Regions from separate parts of the Homo sapiens genome. Here region 1 is linked to region 2. Evidence: promoter capture Hi-C in human tissues and cell types (Jung and others, 2019). All regions are on one chromosome and are shown on one strand. Each heading gives the region's core, a stretch centred on a gene start or on the middle of the fragment in contact. The rest is flanking DNA. Distances are from core to core; before and after follow the strand shown.

Region 1 (7,019 bases), core at 830-3,329, 33 kb before region 2:
GATACTTGTGGGTAGTCAATGTGGCAGAAGGGCAAAAGCAAGCAACAGTTGAAACCATAGGGTATAGTATGAAGGAATCATTCCATTTTGTACAACAGTATCAGCAGCTCCCTGAGGAACTTTTACCAAAATGGATTATGAGAGTAACTAATTTGGAAGCAGTGGCTTTGGTTTGAAATGCTGCACAGTGGAAAAACATGTTTGGGTGATGCAGGACCCACAGGTCACTATAGAACAATTGCAGATTCATATATATGATCCAGACACATAGGTTATTCCTGAGAGAAGAACTGGGCTGGTGGACTGGATAAAAGCCACTGTAAGATCTTTTTACCCCGAAAAGGGGGTCTGTTCAACTCCCCCTGTAAATACCAAGTTGGGTAATTCAGATGAAGCATGTGCAAGCCATGTGGGATTGGCTTTATGAGGACCAGTATATTCACCCACTGAATATGCCTGTTACCCAGGTTATGGTAAATGCTGTGGTTAAGGGGACCCCTTCTACACGGGTACTGTCAGGCCTCTGAGCCCAAGCCAAGCCATCGCATCCCCTGTGACTTGCATGTATACGCCCAGATGGCCTGAAGTAACTGAAGAATCACAAAAGAAGTGAATATGCCTTGCCCCACCTTAACTGATGACATTCCACCACAAAAGAAGTGTAAATGGCCGGTCCTTGCCTTAACTGATGACATTACCTTGTGAAAGTCCTTTTCCTGGCTCATCCTGGCTCAAAAAGCACCCCCACTGAGCACCTTGCGACCCCCACTCCTGCCCACTGAGCACCTTGCGAACCCCACTCCTACCCGCCAGACAACAAACCCCCTTTGACTGTAATTTTCCTTTACCTACCCAAATCCTATAAAACGGCCCCACCCTTATCTCCCTTCGATGACTCTCTTTTCGGACTCAGCCCGCCTGCACCCAGGTGAAATAAACAGCCATGTTGCTCACACAAAGCCTGTTTGGTGGTCTCTTCACACGGACACGCATGAAAGGTACCACATGTAATGACATCACTCCTGAAAAATGGAACAAGAGTCCTAGAAGCCTTATCAAACTTGTTGTCTCAGCTTTCCTTGATGGGTCTTACAGGTATTAATTTTAAAAGTTAGGTTAATTAACAAGAACATGGTGAAGGTTAGAGCAGAGAGTCAAAAGACTCCTCCCAGAAGGGTGTAAATTTTTAAATGTTTATTAAGAAATAAGATGAATAGTCTGGGCACAGTGGCTCACGCCTGTAATCCCAGCACTTTGGGAGGCTGAGGCAGGTGGATCACGAGGTCAGGAGTTAGAGACCAGCCTGGCCAACATGGCGAAACCATGTCTCTACAAAAATACAAAAATTAGCTGGGCGTGGTGACAGGCGCCTGTAATCCCAGCTACTCAGGAGGCTGAGGCAGGAGAATCGCTTGAACCCGGGCGGTGGAGGTTGCAGCGAGCCAAGATCACGTCATTGCACTCCAGCCTGGGTGACAAGAGCAAGACTCCATGTCAGAAAAAAAAAAAAAAAAAAGAATACAGAGAGCATTGATAAGGGTGAAACTAAAAGGAAAAAGAAAGGGGAGAGTCATGGGACTCATCCCAGCAGGGTAAACATGTTTAAATAGTTATTAAAAATGGGATAAATAAAACAAATTGATGGGGTTAAAACAAAGGTCTTAATACAACACTATCAAAGAGGGAGCCCTGCCTGTCTACAAACATTATAGAGCCCAAATCAGTTTTCTGTATTTGCCCCAGATTTGTGAAATTTAAGAAAAAAAATCAGAAGGTAAAGATTACAGTGAGAAAGCTGACCAAAAATTGGGGCAATGTTGAGGCAGTTAATCAAGATAAGGATTGACCAATGAGCCCAAGTGCCTTGGCTCAGCTCCCTGTTGGGAACTCAGATCCTTTTTCACAAGAAAGGGTAAAATGGTCTAGGGTGGAGAAAAAGTTTCCTGGGACTACAACATAAAATGTAAGGGTCAATAGGATTTTAAGAGTTAAAATGTTTGAACAGGCTTTATGTAAAGTAGCTGTGTCTCCTTTACCTAAATGTTTTCTGGGAATGGACATTGTATATGACTGGAGGATGATTCCCCTTCCTAGTACTGTGAACTAGAAAGCATGTAAATCTTCCCTTTGAGCAATACTAATTGGACATGCTCAGTGGGAACCAGTAAGACTGACCAAGCCCACAAAGTATAGAGTAGAAGCTGAAGTGCTGGTAGGGAACAAATTATCCACTGGATAGCTCCTTGTAGAATTTTTATTGGGGCTTATGGCAAAAGTCTATGAGCACCTTCACTAGAGAATTTTCATTTGGGGGTATTTGCTGCCTTGTAATTGGATGTTAGCTGAAGCTACTGCTATGATTGAAGGGCATAAAATGGCCTTGACACCTGAAATAGTAATGTCTGAATGTCAGAGAAACACTCTAATGAGGATAGCAGCACCCAAAAGGGTCCCACCAATAAAATGGGAATGATTTGTGTAGTATCCTGCTATTTGAAGGATGCAAGGAGGAGATAGGAGCAGGGAGTCTCTTTTTCCCTAGGAGTCACTCTGAAACTGTGTGAGGGGCTGCTGGATTCTACAGTGCCCAATAAACAGCTCTCACCTGACTGACAAAGAGCTGCTTGGTTTGTGGATGGCAGTTCCAAGGTGAAAGGACAATATCCTGTTTGGAAGGCTGCTACTCTAATTGTAAAGTATACTATTGTGAACAAAATTTACCTGTCTCTCTACCTGATATCTCCAAAACTGGAAACTATTCATATATTCGTATGACATGGGAATACAGTTATTTGCATAAGTTCAGTAAGAATCTGTTTTCTTTTGTAACAGGACACAATTGGAGACACAGGTTCTTCTATCAAGGCCTTGACTGGAATGGCATATTTTCAGATATGACCACATTGCTTTGAGGAAATGAGGCTGATGTTGCAGAGCTGATAAAACCCCCACAGAAAGGCCAGCCTACCTCTGGTAAGTAAAAAATGTCACTTTCTGGCAGGCCCAGGAACCTCAAGTTATTTTTGGGCCTCAAGAAGAGAGGAATACACCCATTCATACAGGTATGACAGGCACAATCGGATAGCGAATCCTTGACTTGGTTAGCCTCAGGGCTTATAGAAGTCTAATCTGAGATTCCTTATGAAAAGTGTCCCAGTGAAGCCATCTTAAAAGGAGCCAATATGGCCAATCCCTGCACTTTATGCAAATAGTCAGGTCAAGTTAATGAGACTAAATTTATTTCACAAGTAAATTGGCCCTACTTTGATTTATCCTTAGTAGAAATGGGAAAACTGTTGAGAAAAACTATGTTTCAGAAGAAAACTATAGTATGCTCATTATTAGACTGTAGCCTTAATGATTGTTTCTGAGTTTTATTATTTGCCTATAATTCAAACTGAATCCTGAATTATTTCCTGGCTACAAATTTCTAAAGAAAAACCGAGATTTAATTGTCTTCATGCCCTTTTTTATTATAATCCTTGTGTGCATTATATTTCTACTATTCAAATTATTAATGTTATATATCTCTACTTTTACTTCTTCCAAGAAAACCAAAGTCACGGTATTCCAATGACTAGAGATGACAAACCAAAGCCTGTGAATCTCCCTAATTTGGAATGCTACTGGGTCTGATCTGTTTTCCCTGCCAACCCACTGCTGCTAAAGTTGTGCAATGTCAAGCACTTTCCCTAAAGGCCCAGAAGAGGAGGGTGTGTGAGATTAAGAGGGATGGAGTGTGGGGGCTAAAGCAACTCCATCTTGGATGTTGATCTGCCATATTGAGTTCTGATTAACCCCATTTCCAAAAAGGCCTCTAAGGTTTTTTTTTAATTATTTATTTTGCTTACTGTTCCTTGTGTAAGATCATGTACTTACCTTAAGTCCTGCCCTTGAATAATTTTCCTACACATCACTTCTGTATCACATATACCCTTTCCCCATGGTATATAGGCCTTGGTTCTGGGTGTAATGGCGTGGGGATCCACCAACCTGTCTCCACACTACCTGAGACACAGACATGGTTTCTATTCATAAGTCACTATTAAATGTTTCTGTCAGGTGCAGTGGCTCACACCTATAATCCCAGCACTTTGGGAGGCAAAGTAGGAGGAACACTTGAGGCCAAGAGTTCAAGACCAGCCTGAGCAACATAGTGAGACCCCCCTCCTCCCTTTACAAAACACAAAAAAGTTAGCTGGGCATGGAGACACATGTCTCTAGTCCTAGCTACAGAGGCTGAGGCATGAGGATTGCTTGAGCCAGGAGTTCAAGGGTGCAGTGAGCTGTGATCATGCCACTGCACTTCAGCCTAGGTGACACAGTGAGAGCCTGTCTGGAAGGAAAGAGAGAGAGAAAGGAAAGAGAGAGAGGAAGGAAGGAGGGAAGGAAGGAGGGAAGGAAGGGAGGGAGGGAGGGAAAGAAAGAGGGAAAGAGAGAGAGAAAGAGAGAGAGAAGAGAAGACAAGACAAGAGAAGAGGCCGAGCATGGTGGCTCACGCCTGTAATCCCAGCACTTTGGGAGGCCGAGGCGGGCGGATCACGAGGTCAGGAGATCGAGACCATCCTGGCCAACATGGTGCAACCCTGTCTCTACAAAAAATACAAAAATTAGCGGGGCGTGGTGGCGCATGCCTGTAATCCCAGCTACTCAGGAGGCTGAGGCAGGAGAATTGCTTGAACTAGGGAATTGGAGGTTGCAGTGAGCTGAGATCATGCCACTGCACTCCAGCCTGGTGACAGAGTGAGACTCTGTCTCAAAAAACAAGAAAGAGAGAGAGAGAGAGAAGAAGGAGAAGGAGAAGGAGAAAAAGAAAAGGAAGGAAGGGAGGAAGGAAGGAAGGAAGGAAAGTTTCTTCCTGAGAAACTGGATATGTAAGCCTCTTTCTTTGAATTCTCCGCTTCCTTGGAATTTAGTGGTTGGTTTGCATAGGCTTGCTCACTGTGAAATTCCACTGTGTGGAATTGGTGATTGAGGTGAATTTCACATAATGTAAAATTAACAATTTTGAAGTGAACATTTTATTTGCCTTTGAGGTTAATCCTTGTTGTAGAGTGTATCAGTACTTCATTCCTTTTTATGGCTGAATAATATTCTATTGAATAAATATGCCACATTTTGGTTTTTTTCACTCATCAATTGATGGACACTTGGGATGTTTCCACCTCCTTTTGGCTATTGCAAATAGGGCTGCTATGAACATTAATTCGTGTACAAGTATTTGTTAAAATACCTGTTGCCAATTCTTTGGGATATATACTTAGAAGTGACATTGCTGGGTTATATGGTAATTCTATATGTAATTTACTGAGGAATTAACAAATTGTTTTCCTTAGAGGCTGAACCATTTTACGTTCCCACCAGGAATGTACAAAGGTTTGAATTTCTCGACATCTTCACCAACACTTGCTATTTCCCCATCTCATCCTTTTTAGTAGCCATAGTTGTATAATTATACCCATTTCTAGTGGGTATGAAGCTGTATTTCATTGTGGTTTTGATTTGCATTTCCCCAATGACTAATGATCTTGAGCATCTTTTCATGTACTTGTTGTCCATTTGTTTATCATCTTTGGAAAAATGTCTAAGTCCTTTGCCCATTTTTAAGTTGGGTTGTCTTTTTGTTGTTGAGTTGTAAGAATTCTTTACATATTCTGGATGTTAGACCCTTATGAGATATATAATTTGCAAATATGTTCTTCCATTCTGTTGTTGTCTTTTTACTTTCTTGAGAATATCCTTTGACAAACAGAAGTTTTTAATTTTGAGAAAGTCCAGTTTATTTTTTATTTTGTTGCTTGTGTTTTCAGTGTCACATCTAAGACTCCATGGCCAAATTCAAAGTTATGAAGATTTACCCCTAACTCTTCTGAGAGTTTATAGTTTTAGTTCTTATATTTAGGTCATTGGCCAATCATTGCAACTTAATTTTTGTATATGGTATGAGATGGGGGTCTAATTCCATTCTTTTGCATGTGCATATCCAGTTGTCCTGTACCTTTTATTGAAGAGACTGTTCTTTCTACCAGTTTTGTCCTTAGTTTACTCTTCTTTTTCCCCTGTTCTTTAAGGAATAGGGTTAGGTTATTGATTTGTGCTCTTTCTTCTTTTTTAATGTAGGCAGTTGCAACTATGATTTCCCTATGAGCACTACTTTTGCTGCATCCTGTAAGTTTTGGTAGGTTGTGTTTTGCATTTAATTTATATAGTACTTTCATATTTCCCTTGTTGATTTTTTTCTTTGATCCATTGGTTGTTTAAGAGTGTGTTGTTTAATTTCCATACATTTGTGAATTTTCCATTTTCCTTTGGTTATTGATTTCTAGCTTCCCTTCATCGTGGTCAGAGAAGATACTTTCTATGATTTAAGTATTTTAAATGTATTTATCGTTATTTTGTGGCCTAAAGTATGATCTATTCTGTAGAATGTTCCATGTATGAGAACAGTGAGGACTCTGCTCTGCTGGTAGAGTGTTCTATATGTGTCTAGTAGGTCTAGTTGATTTACAGTGTTCAAGTCCTCTACTTACTTATTCATGTGCTATTTAGATGTTCTGTTATTTTTATTTTTCTCTTTTTTTTGTTTTGTTCTATCTATTATTGAAAGTGGGTTATTAAAATCTCCAATAATTATTGTAGAACTAGTTCTCCTTTATTTCTGTTAACGTTTTCTTCACATATTATGGGGCTCTGCTGTTTGGTGAATATATATTTATAATTGTTACATCTTGGTAGTGAATTGACCCTTTTATGAATATATAATAATATCCCTCATTTTAAAGTCTATTTGGACTGATATTAGCATAGCCACCCCAGTTCTCCTTTTGTTACCATTTGTATGGAATATCTTTTTCCATTATTTTACTTTCAATATATTTTATTTCAATATATTTTACTTTCAACATATTTGTCTCTTTGAACTCAAAATGTATTTTTTGAATCCATTCTGCCAATCTCTGCCTTTTAATGGTGAGTTTAATTTTTTAACATTTAAAGTGATGACTGATAAGAAAGCAATT
Region 2 (6,862 bases), core at 3,263-5,762:
TTATTTACCAGTTGCATACCTTAATTCTGCAGATGGATAATCTGGTTGAGATAAGCATTGCCATCTCTCAATTTTTACAAAACAAAAAGCTACCAACAAGAAGTTAATGGTGAAGAAAAATTTGTCTCAAAAATAACACAATTGAGAAATAGCTTTGTATTAAGTGCAGTACTTATAACATCCCTGATGTCAAATGTACAAAATTTAGCTTTAGGTCACTAAAGCATGTTTACCCTTTTGAAGAAACATGTATTGCTAGGTCAGCCATCCTACTTCACTGGAAATAACGTTAAACTTGTAGACTGTTCAAATGGCCAATCAAAATGACTAAGAAACATTATCGTGTGTTTTTTTGTTTGTTTGTTTTTTCATCCTTTCTCTTTCCTTTTCGTTCAAAAATTCAGTTCCCCATCCTAGACCAGACTCCTCTGTCCTCTGCCAGGGTATAAGAAAAGTTAGCATTCTGTCACTATAGAACATAGAAGAGGAATTAGCATGTTATTGAATAAAGAATCAGGAAGATAATTCTAATTGGGTATAGAAAAATTTATACACCATAAACATCTGTATATGTACACCATTTATCATATATACGTATTGTGACAACCATATGTATTAATAAACCTTCAAAAGGTAAGCACCTATATTTTCTTGTAATTAACAATTTTAGTTTTGTGCAATGTAGTCTATATTTGTGGACTTCCCCTTACATATGGTGACAGAGAGACTGAAACATTGTTCACAGAGAAACACAGAACATATACAAATCTCATAATAAAATAACCATGTATACCACTGTTTAGGGAAATATTTTAGAGGAAACATACTTTCACTACTGGCCCCAAATCCCATCATCCACTTAGGTTCTTCAATGTCAACTTTTAATACAAAAATACCTTCAAGCTGATAATTAAGAACATTCACAATGACTTACAAAATGGACAATATTCCAATGCTACACAAAACGGTTCTATAATACACAGCTTAAAGTTTTAAAGTTCTTGGCTGGCAGTTGATTTTTTTTATAGCTGATAGACACGATAACTACTGATCTGAGTAAAATACTGTTTTTAGCTTATACATATGTTCTAAACCATATTACCTCACAAAACAGTAAAGAATAAATCACTTTCTGTTGAAGAATCCTCTAGGACAAACACCAAACCTACACAGCCAAAATATTTTAGGGAGGCAAGTAAACATTTTAAGACAAATCATGACCAGTGGATAAAAATTTGCATTACCCAATTATATGTCCAGGAATTGTTCCTCTGAGTCAGTAAAGCATGTATTGGGCATAAATTAAAAACACAAACATAAAAAGCAAGTTACCGTTTTTTTTTTTTTTTTTGGTTTAGAAGGGTGTTTAATTCATGACATTACTAAGAATGGGTGTTTTTTGGGATAGAAAATTGGTCACATATACCAAATACACATTTTATATTCCAAAATAAAAACTGAGATTTCTTTTAAAACAGTGGAATCCTGATTTTTTCTTTTTTTTTTTTTTTTTTTTTACTTTCTGTGAGCTTATGAGGCCATTCTGCACATTATCAAAATGAAATCATTATGCAGTAACCTTATATATATAAATCCAATTTTTTCCTTTGTAGAAGAAAACCAAAATAATTTTACAAACTACATTTAACTTAGAATATAAAGAACTGACTAGTGTAAAATTTTGAAAATCTACCACTTTATTTTGAAGGAAAGTACACATCCTTCAAAACCCCGCTAACAATTCCTAGTTCAGTTTTCTATTATACAAATCAAAAAGTTAAATTCCTTGTGGCACTAACCAAAACTTAAAAATTAACAGAAGACTGAATTAATTAAAAAAAAAGCATACTAACTAATCAAAACAATCCACTGTGCAATGAATATTTGAACAATGAAAAAAACCTACCAAGCATCCTAATCAATTATATAGTTCTTGCTTCCATATTTTAATTCTGGACTTTCAGGATGGTAAATTATTAAACAGGTCGATTTCATGGACTGTCTAAACCTTGTAGTATTTCAAAATATTACCCTTTCTAAACCAAATCTGTGGTCCTAATCAACTTTTTTTCCAAGAAAAAGAAACGATATGTGTTTAAAATACATTCCGTAGCAGTAGAAACATCTTAGTGTCTCAAAATACTATTTACAAAGAACCCTGCTGATCCTGTGCATTTCGCTGAGGTGCTACTTGCACCCAGACTTCATCATCTGAAAAAGAACTTGAACTTCCTGACTCAGAGTCCAGCTCACTGAATCCATCTAAGTCCCATTCAGTACTAGACTCACTCCGTGCATCATCTTCCTCAGTAATAAAACTCTGACCAGGTTCAAGGCAGGAAGGATAAACACGAGCACAAAGGCAAATAAAGCCAGAGTCAAACTGCAAAAGGCCTAACATGGTACCTATATTAATCCACTGATCTTCCCTAGTATCATACTCATACACTGTCACTCGGTTCTTTTTCCATTGTGGGGTTGTAGAAGTGATGAGAAGCAACTTTTGGTCATGATTGACAATCTGGTAGTTGTGGGTCTCTGAATCCAAAGGAATATTACTAATCCGCCTCCATTCTCCCCTAGCTGGGTTGTAGACCTTCATGACTGGGATGTCACAGATACAATAGATTTCATCATTGAAGACACATGCTTCCTGAAAGTCACTACGTTTAAGAGAAGCACAGTTCAGCCACATATTGTGGCTAGGATCATAGCAAAGCATGCGCTTACTGTTGACAGCATAAAGATAGTTCTGAACCACTATGAGTTCAAAGGAATAGAAGGAATGAGGGACAGGAGCCACCAATGCCCACTGGTTTCTCTGAACACTGTAGCATTCCACTTCCTTCAACTTAACTCCAGTAATAGGGTCTCGTCCCCCCAAAATGTAGATGTAGCCATTGAGATATGCCACATCCATGCCCTCACGACACAGCAAGCGATCTGCAAGTTGCTGCCAACTATTCTGAGCTGGTTTATACACCCAGAGGTCTTTCCTGGGCTGAGCAGCTAGATAGATGTCATGGTCTGGGGACACACAGACAGCTGAGGAGGTGACAGTCTTAGTGTGAGCAAAGCTGGTCAAAGGGGATGGCATTGTGTAAATGTCCCCCGAGTAAGGGTCATAGCAGAGAAAGGGATCTCTAGGATGTCCAAAGAAGATCACCATCTCCTTGGCACACATACCCAGTCTCTGGGGTGGATTTTCTGCTGCAGATACAAGAGAGTTGCTGCTGCTACTGCTGCTGCTGCTGTTTGGCACTGGCACCAGAGACTTGTACAACAGGTCACCATAGCGCATCTGCAGGGCCCCTTCAATAACGTCCAGGCAGTACTTCTTCACGATGGGCTTGGTCAGCAGCCCTTCTAAGTAGTCCTGATCTTCTTCAGTGAAGTGCATCCAGCGCACGCACTTGAAGACTTCTGCAGCACTGGGACCCCGCTCTTTGGCAGCAGCCTCCAGCCACTGCACAGCTACATGGCATACAGTCCGCTCACTCTCTATGTCCAGACTATCCAGGCGTAGGACAGCCAGCAGCTGGGCCAGGGTTAGATCTGCTAGAGTCTCCTCCCGAATTGAACCCATTCGGCTGAGCTGCTTGAAGTTGTGAGCTATGTAGGACTGGGCCTGAGATCGAAGCTTGTGATGGTCGAAGGCGTCTGCAAACTTGAGGATGGCGGTGCAGTTGGTCAGGTCAAGACGTCGGGCTAAGAAGGAGGCACAGGCTTCCCGCACATATTCCAGCTGTAGCATGTCGGAGGCCGCGTACAGGCGCTGCACATTGGCCTCACTGAGAGACACACGACCCGTGTAGCAGTAGTCGACCAACACCTCGAAGGACTCGGCGTCCACATCGTGCATGGTCACGCTGGCCTGCTGGCTCTCGTACATGCCACCTGTGAACATGCTCTTGAAGTAGGGACACGCAGCTGCTAGCACGTTGCGATTGCAGGAAAAGAGGCGACCCGTGCCAGGCCCGCTGCCAGGCGTCACCACCTCGATGGTCACATCACACAGCAGCCGCGCGTCGTAGAAGGACTTGAGCTGTGCCAGCAGGGCTGCAGAATGGGCCGTGTCCTTTAACTCCTCTGGACCCGTGAAAAAGGCCGAAACCGAGGGCTTGGAAATCCTCTTGGGCCGCCTCCCACCACGGGGACTGGCGAGGCGGCGAGAGCGCGGGACGTCTTCCCGGGACTGCATGGTGGAGATGGCGACGGGCGCTGACGGCGAGAAAGGCTGCAGGACCAGGCTCTGGCTCCTCCTCAACCTTCCCTCGCTGACGCTAAGACAAGCCGCGTCCTGGAACAGACTGCGGCACGGGCCGCACTTCTGAATTCAGCCCTATCCCGCGGTGAGGCCTCCCTTTATTGCATAGACAGTGGCTGACTCACCCTCTCTCACTCCCGCGCCCTTTCTCCGCCTCCGCTCGCCCTCACAGGACCCGCTGGCTTGCAGCCGCGGAAGCCCCCACTGCCGCGCTGGCGATCCCGCTAGGCGCCCGGGAGAACTACTGCTCCCAGGTTGCCTTTCGCGCCCCGAGGCCTGCTGGGGCTCTCGGACGGCCGGGCGGGGACAGAGGGAAAGAAACCGCTTTGCATGTTGGGAGTAGTAGTTTGTGTAATATCGCGAGCTGTCCTTTAGTTGACTGCTCTAACAGTAGAAATTAATTCTCCTGGATTTGATGGTGAAGAGACTGTTGCCCAGGCTGGTCTTGAACTCCTGAGGGCTCAAATTATCCTCCTGCCTCGGCCTCTCAATGTGCTGGGATTACAGGCGTGAGCCACCGCCCCCTGCCAGTATTTCATAGGGTTTTGTGTGGTTCAATGATACCTTACATGGGATACTTAGATACATGTATGTTTTTGGTTAGAAGAATAGTAAAGCGTTACCCCGTGCCTAGAATGTAGCCAATAACTGTTAGATTCTCTTTTATAATTTATGATAAATGAGGCACCCACTAATTTGAAACCGAGTATTATTTTAAACCGCAAAATTTTACAAAGAATTTCTAGTTTTTAATGTTTATTCCTTCGAAAGATTTTGAAGGGCATTAACAATATTTTCAATATTAAATGATATCTATTGGTCTCGTTTAATAAGGATGTCTTAGACGACTAGGTTGAGGTCCTAAAGAACAGTATTAATAGATGGTCTCAAATACGCAAATCCAGCATATAAAAATAAATTATTTGCTGCTCTCACTAACATTTCATCTCTGGAGAGCAGGAGTATTTTCGTTAAGCTCCAAATATGAGTGTTTTCAAGTCGTCTAATACAGCCTCTTTCACTGCCGTTCCACAAATCAATTAACAGATTATGTAATTCCCTTTATTAAGGAGTTTTAGGGAGTATTTTAACTCAAAATATTTCAACAAACAGACTTTGTTCTGTACAAAAGCACATGATTCTCAGAATTCAACATCAGTACATGCCCTGACATTCCTTGAATTAATATATAGTATAGTCTATGCTTTACAAAGTCTTTTATATTTGCATTGGGATCAACAGTTAAATCATCAAAATCAAGTATTAGAGATTTGAGGCAGGAAAATAGGGTCTGGAGGCAGGGAACATAAGGCTGATTCACACTTTAGCTATAACAGGAAAGATCCTCTCCATAGGGTGTATGCTGAGTAAATGAGTTTGTAACTTTACTTCATTCTCTTCATTTACATAGGGTGTACACCAAGTAACCAGTGGAATCCTCTAGAGGGTATTTAAACCTTCAGAAATTCTGTAACAGGGCCCTTGAGCCCCTATGCTCAGGCCCGCTCCCCACTGTGGAGTGTACTTTCATTTTCAGTAAATCTCTGCTTTTGTTGTTTCATTGTTTCCTTGCTTTGTTTATGTGTTTTGTCCAATTTTTTGTCCAAAACGCCAAGAACCTGGACACCCTCCACCAGTAACAGACTTTTTCAGATAACTTTTATTACAAAACCATGACTGCTCCTGCTGCTAGTTTGTTATGTTACCATAACCTAATAAAGAAAATCATCAGTGTTACATGCATGTATGGATAACACATTACAAGAGAATAACTTTCAAATTGTTTTTCTCTTATCAGCTGAAGATAACTTCAACTTATCAGCTGAAGTCCACTGGAAATACTCTAGGGTAGACACATTAAATTAAGTCAGCCTCTGGGCTCTAATAACTCCTCTGTAAATAAAAAGAGATGTTAGATATCCCTCAGATACACCAGAGAGAATCAAGTCAGTCATTATCAGTAACAATGATTGTTTCCTGACTTGCAGTGAATACCAGCTGGGGAAAAAAGCCTTTTTTTTTTCTTTTTTTTTTTTTTTTTTGAGATGGGGTCTTGCCCTGTCACCCAGGTTGGAGTGCAGTGGCACCATAATAGCTCACTGCTGCCTCAAACTCCAGTGCTCAAGCAATACTTTGCCCTCAGCCTCCCAAGTAACTAGAGCTATAGATGCATACCACCACACCCAGTTAATTAAAAAAAAATTATAGACAGGGTCTCACTGTGTTGCCAGCCTGGTCTGGAAATCTTGGTGTCAAGCACTCTTCCTGCCTGAGCCTCTGAGTTGCTGCAATTACAGGCATGAGCCACATGCCCAGCGCAGGAATGGCCATTTTAAAAAACTTCTTAAAATATTGGTAAAATATACATAACACTAAATTTACCATTTAAACATTTTCAGTGTATAGTTCTTTAGCATTAAATATATTCACACGGTTTTGCCACTATCACAAAACTGAAGCTCTGTACCCATTTAAACAATAACTCTCTAGCCCCCACTTCTGGCAACTGCCATTCTACTCTTTGTCTCTATGACTTTTGACTACTCTAGGTACCTCATATAGGCAGTGACTGATTTTTACCTTCCTTATATCTGC

Evidence for each region. The method cuts DNA at HindIII sites, captures the fragments that hold promoters and counts their contacts. A contact is called where the count stands out against the background at its distance.
Region 1: a contact is called between a fragment that was not itself captured here and the fragment with the promoter of KBTBD7 in region 2, in 1 of the 25 tissues and cell types used here (pancreas).

What each region holds. Positions count from the first base shown.
Region 1 is chr13:41,159,431-41,166,449 of GRCh38, forward strand. KBTBD6-DT (KBTBD6 divergent transcript) reads left to right here. Exons shown (of 4, transcript NR_120423.1): 3 at 2,833-2,973. Among named protein-coding and RNA genes, the nearest start is that of KBTBD6-DT, 30 kb to the left of the region's middle. The HindIII fragment of the contact is 7,292 bases long and covers 1-5,725 here.
Region 2 is chr13:41,190,057-41,196,918 of GRCh38, forward strand. It overlaps KBTBD7 (kelch repeat and BTB domain containing 7), which reads right to left and starts at 4,513. Exons shown (of 1, transcript NM_032138.7): 1 at 1-4,513. The coding sequence starts at 4,201. The coding sequence ends at 2,147. All of the region lies in intron 3 of KBTBD6-DT (KBTBD6 divergent transcript), which reads left to right. RefSeq lists enhancers at 3,255-3,962, 3,963-4,669, 4,014-4,283, 4,594-4,683. The HindIII fragment of the contact is 7,226 bases long and covers 1,166-6,862 here.